3 separate regions of the Homo sapiens genome follow, and regions 1 and 2 are each linked to region 3. Evidence: promoter capture Hi-C in human tissues and cell types (Jung and others, 2019). All regions are on one chromosome and are shown on one strand. The core of a region is centred on a gene start or on the middle of the fragment in contact, and the rest is flanking DNA. Distances in the headings are between cores, read along the strand shown. Region 1 overlaps NUDT2 (nudix hydrolase 2). Region 2 overlaps KIF24 (kinesin family member 24). Region 3 holds the start of ENHO (energy homeostasis associated).

Region 1 (3,991 bases), core at 686-3,185, 180 kb after region 3:
AGTGAAACAGACCATGTGTATAGCAAGTCAGGTTTAGAATACTGCTCTTTTATGGTGTGAGATGACCTTCTTCAGACGTCTGCTTTCTTATTCTTCGGAACTTTCTTCATCCCATGCTCTAAGGAATCACTTTTCTATTGGAGACCTTGAAGTGATTTTTCCAAGGAGGGGGAAGTCCTTTCTTAACAAGTGGAAGTTAGCTGACGAGGAAGTACTTTGCCTACAATCCAGTGAGGACTTAACATTGTCTGCAGGTGGACCCTGACATTCCAGGGCCAACAGGCTCAAAACCCTGCACGGCTGAATGAGCAGCTGTTTCCATGAAGCTATCAAGGCTTTTTCCAAATTGTTTTCCTCTTTCTTACTGGGCAAAGCCAGATTTCAGTTTCATAGGGAAACTCTTGATGGGAACTTAGACTAAGGGCCAGCTGAGAACCACTTCTAAGAAAATGTGTTAGCAACACCCAAACCCAAGAAGACAGCTGCCAAGAAACTGCTGTAGGAGAACTTGAAGCTCTGCAGACTGGAGCAGCTCTCAGCTTTACCTCTAGTCCCCTCCCACAAATCTTCAGCTTCCCCAGAGGGGGCAAAGACTGGGAACGGTCTGGCAGACTCTGTCTACACCTTGGCTCCAGTAAGTTTCTAGGGAGGCCTCCTGCTCACAGGCTCATGGCGAGCAGGAACTCAGTTGTTCTCTCCTTGGTTTGGAGATGGGGGCCCTCATCCTTCCCAGGGGTCTACAATGCCCAGAGCCAGCTGCTGCACAAAAAACTCCCCAGGGTCCAGGGGCGGTGGCTCATGCCTGTAATCCCAACACTCTGGGAGGCCGAGGCGGGTGGATCATCTGAGGTCAGGAGTTTGAGACCAGCCTGGCCAACATGGTGAAACCCTGTCTCTACTAAAAATACAAAAATGAGCTGGGCGTGGCAGTGGACATCTGTAATCCCAGCTACTCGGGAGGCTGAGGCAGGAGAATCACTTGAGCCCAGGAGGCGGAGGTTGCAGCGAGCCAAGATTGTGCCATTGTACTCCAGTTTGGGCAACAGAGCGAGACTCCGTCTCAAACAAACAAACAAAACCCCCAGAAACTTAGCACTTAAAAACCATTCTAGCTTATAGCTTCTGGGGAATTTTCTCTGCACAAGCACCTCCTATAGTGGTGTACACAAAGACAGACAGGTAATGCATCAGGGGAGCAAGGTGGGAGGGATGCTAGTAGTGATGGGTGATACTGACTCAGGACGTCCTACCTCCCCTCAGAGGTGTATGGAAGTCCCTGAGCACACCCCTCCCAGGGGCATCTATTCAGTATTCTGTCCATCAGTGTTAATTAACAGGGTAGCTTCTGCCGAAGCAGGAAAGGATTAGGAGAGGTCCACTGACATCAGGTAGTGAGAGGAACAAGGCAGTGTGACTCATGTGATCCGGAGACAAGTGTGAATATTCCTATTCATAGTATTTGTGAAGCTTCTGCCTCTTTTTTCACCTTGTTTCTCCCCAGTACAACTCAAACATGCAAAATTTATTTCCTGTTCCCATTTCCTTGTTTTCCTTCAATCCTGGATCTTTGTCCATCCCTTCTAACCCCACTCCCTTTTAAAGTCCCCGCTTCTGGCCAGGCGTGGTGGCTCATGCCTATAATCCCAGCACTTTGGGAGACCAAGTGGGCAGATCACTTGAGCCCAGGAGTTCAAGACCAGCCTGGGCAATATAGTAAGACCCTGTCTCTATAAAATAGTAATAATAATAACAAAATAATTTAAAAAATAAAGTCCCTGCTTCCTTCTGTCTGAGGGCTATTCCTCATTCCAGCAGGCACCTGAGCCACAGTCTGTCCCTCCCAACTCAAACCATCCCAATGGCCTCAGCCAAGAAGGGCTCCTTTTTCCCATTTCTCCCCACACAGCCTGGCTTCTCTTTCAGGACCAAATGACTGCAGCTTTCTTACTCTTAGAGGTGAGGTCAGGAGTGCTGGTGGATGAAAACTGGCCAGCTTACAAACAGATCTTGGCCTGGCCTAAGGCCTCAGGCCAGTAGTCTTCACTGTTCTTCCCACTGGAGACTTGCCCGACTCCACCCTCAGTGCTGAGTGATAGACTCAAGGCACAGGTAGCTAGCTGGTCAAGCTGCAATCTCAAGGTCTCCATAATCTTTACAGTCTAAGAAGGCCCTGCCCATCCCCTCCTGGTCTAAGAAGGCCCTGCCCATCTCCTCACTCCTCCACTCCTGCCACAATCTGCAGATGAATCTATGATCAGGGAGCCCAACTTCTCTATGCTCCAACTCAAAATACAACTATGTTCAGAAACACTGTAGAACTCATACTCTCTGTGTTTAGTTCAAAAGAAAAACCTGGCTGGGTGCGGTGGCTCACGCCTGTAATCCCAGCACTTTGGGAGGCTCAGACGGGCAGATCACCTGAGGTCAGGAGTTTGACACCAGCCTGGCCAACATGGTGAAACCCCGTCTCTACTAAAAATACAAAAAATTAGCCAGGCGTGGTGGTGGGCGCCTGTAATCCCAGCTACTCAGGAGGCTGAAGCAGGAGAATTGCTTGAACCTGGGAGATGGAGGTTGCAGTGAGCTGAGATTGCCCCACTGCTCTCCAGCCTGGGCGACAAAGCGAGACTTTGTCTCAAAAAAAAAAAGAAAAGAAAAACCTAATGATAGGGACACTGAACTAGGAGTCAAAGGAAATTGATCAAATGAAATCAGAGACAGGCTGGAAGAAAACTTAGGATTTTCTTTTTTTTGAGACAGGCTCTGTTGTCCAGGCTGGAGTGCTGTGGCACAATCTCGGCTCACTGCAGCTTTGATCTCTCGAGCTCAAGTTATTCTCTAACCTCAGCCTCCTGAGTAGCTGGGACTACAGGTGTGCACCACCACACCTGGCTAATTTTTGTATTTTTTGTAGAGACATGGTTTTGCCATTTTGCCCAGGCTGGTCTCGAGCTCCTGGGCTCAAGCAATCTGCCCACCTCGACCTCCAAAAGTGCTGGGATTATAGGCGTGTGCCACTGTGCCTGGCTGAAAACAGGATTTTCTAGTCAAGCCCTTGTTTGACAGATGAAAAACTCAAAGCTGAGAGGTGGGCACATAGCTCAGTCAACCTCAAGGTCCCCAATTCCCTGCCCACTGTTTTTTCTCTTACCCAGCCATTCACCACAGAGGTTGGAGAGCTGGCGAATGATACTCATAAAAACACCAGGTGCTGTTTCTACCCTGGAATTCAGTCACAGAATTCTCAGCTCTACTCTGGCCTGGTCTGGAGACCTTGTATGTAGAAAGGGTCAAGAGCTCCTACCTTCCCTACCCCTTTTTGCTACACAGTCACTGGGAATTAAGCCTTGGGGAGGGCCTGGCAGGGTAGATTTCTGAGCAGTGGTTGGCAGTTTCCCAAGAGCTGGCCCCTCTGGCCTCTACCTTTGGGAGGAGTCCAGTGATGAATGCCATCTGATGCCTGCAGCAGTAAAAACTCAATTGCATTGTTGTCCACTTTGGGAATGAGGCATCTTCGGAAGATGATCAAGCCACATGCTCTCAAGGCCATGGTCTTATCCTAAGGACTTAACAAAGAAGATACAGAATATTGGGAAGTTACACAAAATAGGAAGCTCCATACTGGGGGGTAGCAATCTGGTGATGGACAGTAATGCAGACTAGCTAACTGTGATCTCATAGCCCACAGAAAAAGGCAGCATGCCCAGGACCAATGGAAGGCATCCAGGAATCAGAGACTGACCTTTGTGTATAACTGCAGGACCCTGGCAACTACCCTCAGTCAATGTGGCCTCTATCCCAACTCCTCCAGGGCTCCCTGTAAAACAGGGCTGGCATGTGTTTGTTGTGACACTGGAGATCCTCAGAAGCAAACGCACTGAAACAAGAGAGATGTTGGGAATGGGAGAGAGGCAGTACAAGTTTTATCGTCAAACCTGTAACCCCATTTCCCCCAGCCCATATCCTGAGCCCCTGAAGCACAGAACCCCCC
Region 2 (3,916 bases), core at 1,230-3,729, 230 kb after region 3:
TTTTAGGAGGTAAGATAGGGAAATGCTAGGGTAATGTCTATATCCTTGGGCCCCTTCAAGTGCCTACTGCAATGTATGTGCTACCAGCTGAGCATAAATATTTATGGAATTAAAAGTTAAGCTGTGTAATCTACAGAATTGAGATCTTCCCCTAGAATTCCTCCAAAATTCTTTTTTTTTTTTTTTAAATGGAATCTCGCTCTGTCACTCAGGCTGGAGTGCAGTGGTGCCATCTCGGCTCACTGCAAGCTCCACCTCCTGGGTTCACGCCATTCTCCTGCCTCAGCCTCCCGAGTAGCTGGGATTACAAGTGCCCACCACCATGCCCGGCTAAATTTTTGTATTTTTAGTAGAGATGGGGTTTCACCGTGTTAGCCAGGATGGTCTCGATCTCCTGACCTTGTGATCTGCTGGCCTCGGCCTCCCAAAATGTTGGGATTACAGGCGTGAGCCACTGCGCCAGATCACAAATTCCTCCAAAATTCTAAATATACTAGCTTTAGTTGGAATACGAGGATAATCCCCATAGAATTCACTTTCTCTCCTAGACCTAAGGAGGATTGACTCACTCTTGTGTTTATCAATTTACTTCTCTTAAGAGAAAACAAAAAATGTATGCCTTAGTTTTTACCTTGTAAGAACATGTCTACAGAGATCTCAAGTAAGAGGAGGCCCTGTCATTTAATAGTGATTGCTTATTTACCTCTAAGTTTGATATGGTCAGTTACTGTTACTTAAAGACATATTTTGGCATTTATCATCTGTTAACTAGAATAGTGATTAAGAAAATCCAGAATGTGTCTCTTTCCATAAAATCAAATTTATTTTTCAGCATGTTTTTTATTTTGATGAAGTCTTTGGTGAGGCGTGCACCAATCAGGATGTATACATGAAGACTACTCACCCACTTATTCAGCATATTTTCAATGGGTACGATAATGATTATTTGCTTTTTTTGCTTTTTATTTTCTATTTTCCATTAGGCCATATTTCTTTATAAATATCACATGCTTTTCAGTACTTTTGACTTAAACATGAATTTGTGTTTTGAGCTAATAAATTTAGATTCTTCTGAAAACATGCAGTATCTCTATAGGATTTACCAAGGATTTAGAAATTTGCAGTAAAATTTCCTCTTACATTGATGATATTATTTCTCTGTGTCTAGTGGAAAAATATATTGTGATAGATAGTGAAAGGGTGTTAAAAAAAAAAGAAAAATTAAGCTTTTAACAATATTATCCCATCAAAGTCCTCAGAAGAAAAAGGTTCAGGTGGTTGGAGTTAGTCTGAACTTTGATGATAGGAATTATGTATTCTGGCTATAGTTTAGTTAATTTTTTCTTTGGAATCAGATAGATAAGTGAATATCACTTATCAATTTTTCATAGATGTATTTTTTTTTTTTTTGAGATGGAGTCTTGCTCTGTCGCCCAGGCTGGAGTGCAGTGGCGTGATCTCAGCTCACTGCAAGCTCTGCCTCCCACATTCACGCCATTCTCCTACCTCAGCCTGCCTCAGCCTCCCAAGTAGCTGGGACTACAGGCGCCCGCCACCACGCCCGGCTAATTTTTTTGTATTTTTAGTAGAGATGGGGTTTCACCGTGTTAGCCAGGATGGTCTCCATCTCCTGACCTCGTGATCCGCCCGCCTCGGCCTCCCAAAGTACTGGGATTACAGGCGTGAGCCACCACGCCCGGCCTCATAGATGTTTTTTTTTTTTTTTTTGAGACAGAGTCTCACTCTGTCGCCCAGGCTGGAGTGCAGTGGCGCCACCTCGGTGCACTGCAAGCTCTGCCTCCCGGGTTCACGCCATTCTCCTGCCTCAGCCTCCTGAGTAGCTGGGACTACAGGCGCCCACCACCATGCCTGGCTAATTTTTTGTATTTTTAGTAGAGACGGGGTTTCACTGTGTTAGTCAGGATGGTCTCGATCTCCTGACCTCGTGATCCGCCCGCCTCGGCCTCCCAAAGTGCTGGGATTACAGGTGTGAGCCATCGCGCCCGGCCAGATGTATTTTTAAGTTATTATTCACACTTAATAAACGTTGAATGGGACAGGAATGATAGTAAGGGCCTCTGTTGCATAAGTATTTAAAATATAGGCATGGGCCACATGTGGTGGCTTGCACCTGTAATCCAAGCACTTTGGGAGGCCAAGACAGGAGGATAGCTTGAGCCCAAGAGTTTGAGACCAGTCTGGGCAACATAAGGAGACCCTATCTCCACACACACCAAAAAATATTTATTTTATTTTATTTTATATTTTTGAGACAGGGTCTCACTCTGTCACCCAGGCCAAAGTGCAGTGGTGCAATCTTGGCTCACTGCAACTTCTGCCTCTCAGGTTCAAGCAATCCTCCCATCTCAGCCTCCTGAGTAGCTGGGACTGCAGGTGCCTGCCACCACGCCCAGCTAATATTTCTGTATTTTTTTAGAGATGGGGTTTTGCCATGTTACCCAGGCTAGTCTTGAATTTCTGGGCTCAAGCAATCCTCCTGCTTCAGTCTCCCAAAGTGCTAGGATTATAGGTGTGAGCCACCATGCCTGGTCTATAAAATTTTTTTTTTTAATTAGCCAGGCATGGTGATGTGCACCTGTGGTCCCAGCTACTTGGGAGGCTGAGGTGGGAGGATTGCTTGAGCCCAGGAGGTCAAGGCTGTAGGAGCTGTGGTCTTGCACTGTACTCCAGCCTGGGCAACAGAGCAAGACCCTGCCTCTGTCTGTCTGTCTGTCTGTCTGTCTGTCTGTCTATCCATCCATCCAATCCACCTACCTAGCTATCTACCTACCTATCTAATCTACCTACCTACCTATCTACCTACCTATCTATTAAAATTGTAGGCATGTATGATAGAAAATGCCAAGTAGCCTGCTAGTGTTGCTGATTCCAGAGAATTTTGACTGTTTTTTCAAACAACTTTTTAAAAATTGAGGGATAATTTACATACAATAAGATGCACAGATCTTAAGTATTCACATTTGATGAGTTTTGAGAGTTTTATATACGTGAGTAACAAATATCTGTAACAAGACATGGAACATTTTCATCACCCCAGAAAGTTCTCTTGTGTCCCTATTTAGTTAATCCTCCACCCTCACCCCCAGGTCTTAGGTAACCACTGACTTACTTTCTGTCAGTATAGATTAGTTTTATCTGTTCTACAATATCATAGAGATAGAATCATTATACTTATATGCTTAACATAATGTTTGCTTAGCATAATGGTGTTTTATATTAGTACATGTTGTTACACGTATCTGTGGTTTTCATTGCTGAGTAATATTCCCTTCTATGAAATTATCACACTTTGTTTTGTCTATTCTCCTGTTGACAGATATTTGCATTGTTTCCGGCTTTGGACTTTATGAATAAAGTATGAACATTCTTTTTTTTTTGAGACGGAGTTTCACTCTTGTTGCCCAGGCTGGAGTGCAATGGTGCGATCTCAGCTCACCGCAACCTCTGCTTCCCGGGTTCAAGTGATTCTCCTGCCTCAGCCTCCCAAGTAGCTGGGATTGTAATCCCACACCCGGCTAATTTTTTATTTTTTAGTAGAGATGGGGTTTCTCCATGATGGCCAGAACATTCTTGTATAATTTTTTTTATGAGCATGTTTTCATTTACTTTGGGTAACAACCTAGAAATGGAATTGCTGGCTCATAGGATAGGTTTATATTTATAAGAAAGTGTCAGTCGGGCACAGTGGTTCACGCTTGTAATTTCACACTGTGGGAGGCCGAGATGGGAGAATCATTTGAGCCAGGAGTTCAAGACCAGCCTGGGCAATATAGTGAGACCCTATCTCTAAAAAAAATTTTTTTAATTAGCTGGGTTTGGTGGCATATGCCTGTAGTCCCAGCTACTTGGAAGGTTGTTGCTTGAGCCCAAGAGATCAAGGCTGCAATAATCTGTG
Region 3 (3,899 bases), core at 286-2,785:
CAGTGGGGGGGAGCTAAAAGTAATCCACTCTGGTAAACTCTATAGGATCCAATAATTTATTTTAGACAGTCTCTAAGTACTTTGGTAGCTTTGGATGACTCAGTCTTCCCTTTCTTCTTTCAAGATAGCATCTGGATTTACAGGGGTCTTATGTGAATTTCATGGCATTGGATTGGGGGAAGGGGCCTCTTAGTCACATGGTCCTGGGGGTTGTGTCAGCTGGCATTTGCTGAGATGTGATCGATCTGCTATAAATTAGTGAATAACAACCCTGAGAGGTAGCATTACAACCATTTTACAGATGAGGAAGCTGAGGCTAAGAGAGATTTAGTAACTTGCTCAAGATCACAAAGTTAGTAAGTGAACCAGGAATCAATACTGCCCCGATTACAGTAGGCACTTAGTTATATGAGTCTAGGATTCCAGAGAGAAGTTAAGGCTAGACTTGGGAGCACTGGGAGTCTTCATGATATAGCTTCAGGGATGTGATCCTCCAAGGAGAGCATGTAGAGCGGGATGAGAAGACGGCCGGATCAGAATAGGTGACAATCACTGGCCTGTGAAGGTCGGGGAGGACAAGGTCTACCTCACTGCTCCTGTCCAAGCTATCTTCTTCTTAGGGGAGCTTTTAGGATGGCAAGGCAGGATTTCCACCACGCCTGCACCTATTCCAGCCAGGGCAGAACCATCGCTCAGGACACTCCATTTCTGTCCCAGACTCCCCAACAGCCTGGCAGCAAGCCTGCGACCAACACTGGGTAGGAACTCAGTAAATGTGTCCAAAGAACCTGTGTTGCCAGAGATTTTCACACCTCTTAGGGCCAGGGAACCTGGGGCCCTCTAAAGTGGGAATGCAGAGTCCACACCCAGGTGGCAGAGGGAAGTGCGGGACTGCACTATAGGCGGTTCCCTAGGTGAGGAGATTCAGTCTCCTGCCAGGTGTGGGGACGCGGGGCCTTCCTCCGGATGACTTACTTAAGAGACCTCTCCCAGATACAGAGGGGTGGTTTCCTCACATGTGGAAATGCAGAGGCCTTGGCCTTTCTCGGATGTGGGGTGTACAACCCTTCCAGGTGTAGAAGGTGCAAGAAATCCCTACCAGAGGTTAGGCCTTGCCCCCACCCCATCCCCTCTCCCGGGAAGGATCCAGGGCCAGCTACTCCTTCGGCCCTCCTCCCGCCCCGCGCCGGCACGAGAGGCGGGCTGGTCCCCACCTCAGCGCACCACCAATGGTGCGGGAACCGGGGTTCGGCCAGCCAATTGAGTGGCGGCAGCGGCGCTGGGATGGCTCCGCCCCCGGGCCGCAGGCCGCCGGCCTCCCAGGAGGCGAGGCTCTTCGCTGTTTTTGCTGGCCGCCGAGCCCGGCCGAGCCCAGCCGAACGTAGCCGAGCCCAGCCGAGCCCAACCGAACGCAGCCGAGCCCAGCCGAACACCGCGCAGCTCCCGCCGCCGCCGCCCGAGCGCTGCCGAGCGAGCGAGCGCCGCGGCCGCGGAGGAGGTGCGGCCCCAAGGGGAGGAGGTGCCCGCTCACCGCAGACCGCCCGCGGCAGAGGCCGCCCCGGTCGCGCCGCGGCGGGAGCGGCCGGTGGAGGCTGCGCGGCCGAGGGGGAGGGCCGGGGGAGCGGACGTCGCCTCTGCTGGTCTCCCACCTCCCGCCGCCCCCCGCCCGCAGGCTCCCAAGCCTTAGTCGGCGCCGAGCATCCCGCTGCCCCGGACCCTCCCGCGGGCGCGCACCAGGCTCAACTCAGGTAAGAAGGGCCTCCCGCCACGGGCACGGGGGCCAAGAACACGCGACCCGAAGATGGAGATAAAGAGACAGAGACACACTGCCGCGGAGAGAGACGAACACAAAGACAGAGACACAGGAACCACCGAAAAGACCCCACGGAGAAGGGGATAGGGACACGTCCATGGGAACAGAGGGGGATACAGCCTGGAAGAGAGAGAGAGACACAGAGACTGATGCAGAGATACACAGAGACACACTGGTAGAGAAATGAGACATAGAGGAGACATACTCAGAGATGGGGACACACGGAGAGGCAGCCACACACACAGAGGTGGGTGTGCAGAGGCACAGGCACACATCCAACGGAGGGACAGTGAGACACCAGACACACACACACACCTGACCCAGAGAGGCAGCCCCACATAGAGGCACACAGCCCTGGACGCACAGAGCCTGCACATGCCTGCCAGGGCCTCCACAAAGTTCCCTCTGTGCAAGCTGGCGCCTCTGGAGGTCTCCTGGTCGGGCTGGCTGGAGTCCTGGGAGAGAGGAGGCGCCCAGGCCACACCAGAGCTGCTTACAACCCCCATCCTTTTGGGCTGGGGGCTTCCTGGATCCCACCCACCAACAGAGGGCTTTTGAGGGCTGCAAGCTTGGTGGGCAGGACCAGGGCATGCCCACCAGGTCTAAGGAGAATGAGATGACGGCTGCCTACTGCAGCTTCCCCACGGTGGCTACACACTCATTCAGGTGGCCAGAACCAAGCCTGTGGATGGGGGTGATGGCTCTGTGGGGTATTCGAGCCTGTTGGGACCCAAGGTCTTTCACCAGGGAGGCCAGAAATGTGGGAGGGAGGCTCTCTTCCCTACCTCTCTCCTCCTAGGCCTCACCCCACCCTTCCTCCTCACCACCCTCTCCTTTACTGTATACCCCCAACAGGCTCAGGACTGCAGGTAGACATCTCCACTGCCCAGGAATCACTGAGCGTGCAGACAGCACAGCCTCCTCTGAAGGCCGGCCATACCAGAGTCCTGCCTCGGCATGGGCCTCACCATTGAGGCAGCTCCACTGTCTGTGCTGGTCTGAGGGTGCTGCCTGTCATGGGGGCAGCCATCTCCCAGGGGGCCCTCATCGCCATCGTCTGCAACGGTCTCGTGGGCTTCTTGCTGCTGCTGCTCTGGGTCATCCTCTGCTGGGCCTGCCATTCTCGCTCTGCCGACGTTGACTCTCTCTCTGAATCCAGTCCCAACTCCAGCCCTGGCCCCTGTCCTGAGAAGGCCCCACCACCCCAGAAGCCCAGCCATGAAGGCAGCTACCTGCTGCAGCCCTGAAGGCCCCTGGCCTAGCCTGGAGCCCAGGACCTAAGTCCACCTCACCTAGAGCCTGGAATTAGGATCCCAGAGTTCAGCCAGCCTGGGGTCCAGAACTCAAGAGTCCGCCTGCTTGGAGCTGGACCCAGCGGCCCAGAGTCTAGCCAGCTTGGCTCCAATAGGAGCTCAGTGGCCCTAAGGAGATGGGCCTGGGGTGGGGGCTTATGAGTTGGTGCTAGAGCCAGGGCCATCTGGACTATGCTCCATCCCAAGGGCCAAGGGTCAGGGGCCGGGTCCACTCTTTCCCTAGGCTGAGCACCTCTAGGCCCTCTAGGCTGGGGAAGCAAACTGGAACCCATGGCAATAATAGGAGGGTGTCCAGGCTGGGCCCCTCCCCTGGTCCTCCCAGTGTTTGCTGGATAATAAATGGAACTATGGCTCTACCCTGAGGTTTTCTTCTCTTCCTGAGGGCCCTGTGGTAGCACAATTAAAGGTGTGGGGTGGGTTTCTACACAGGTTTATTTGTGCAAAGTTAGAGGGGTAATGGTGGTTGAAGACCAAGTCCTGGGGTAAGGTGCTGGGACCTTAAGGAACAGAACAAGAAGGGAAGATGCTGGGACCTGATCAGGAGTGGGGTCACATGCTGGGTGCTAAGGCTGGGCTGGGTACCAGGGTCAAGCCCTAGGAGTACTGTATTCAAGCGATGGGACAGAGACTGAGGCCAGCCCCTCAGGTCTTGATTTTCACTTCCCTCACCAGGTTCAGCAGTTTGTCCAGTTTCGCAATCTCCACAGCTGGACCCTTCTGCACCTCCTGCCCCTTCTTTTCCTGGGGAGAGGGAAAGTATACATGAGGGAGGA

What was found. Contacts are between HindIII fragments. The study calls those that stand out against the background at their distance.
Region 1: a contact is called between a fragment that was not itself captured here and the fragment with the promoter of ENHO in region 3, in 4 of the 25 tissues and cell types used here (IMR-90 fibroblasts, dorsolateral prefrontal cortex, hippocampus and 1 more).
Region 2: a fragment that was not itself captured here is called in contact with the fragment with the promoter of ENHO in region 3 in 2 of the 25 tissues and cell types used here (mesenchymal stem cells and mesendoderm cells).

The regions. Positions count from the first base shown.
Region 1 is chr9:34,338,599-34,342,589 of GRCh38, reverse strand. NUDT2 (nudix hydrolase 2) reads right to left here. Exons shown (of 5, transcript NM_001161.5): 3 at 3,743-3,877; 4 at 3,424-3,566. The coding sequence starts at 3,550. Among named protein-coding and RNA genes, the nearest start is that of NUDT2, 11 kb to the right of the region's middle. The HindIII fragment of the contact is 7,642 bases long and covers 1-3,991 here.
Region 2 is chr9:34,294,031-34,297,946 of GRCh38, reverse strand. KIF24 (kinesin family member 24) reads left to right here. Exons shown (of 13, transcript NM_194313.4): 4 at 833-930. Among named protein-coding and RNA genes, the nearest start is that of KIF24, 33 kb to the left of the region's middle. The HindIII fragment of the contact is 6,110 bases long and covers 1-3,916 here.
Region 3 is chr9:34,520,626-34,524,524 of GRCh38, reverse strand. ENHO (energy homeostasis associated) reads left to right here and starts at 1,535. Exons shown (of 2, transcript NM_198573.3): 1 at 1,535-1,748; 2 at 2,669-3,482. The coding sequence starts at 2,830. The coding sequence ends at 3,060. DNAI1 (dynein axonemal intermediate chain 1) reads right to left here. Exons shown (of 20, transcript NM_012144.4): 20 at 3,541-3,867. The coding sequence ends at 3,769. RefSeq lists silencers at 1,110-1,479, 1,500-1,609 and an enhancer at 2,239-2,791. The HindIII fragment of the contact is 6,325 bases long and covers 1-3,716 here.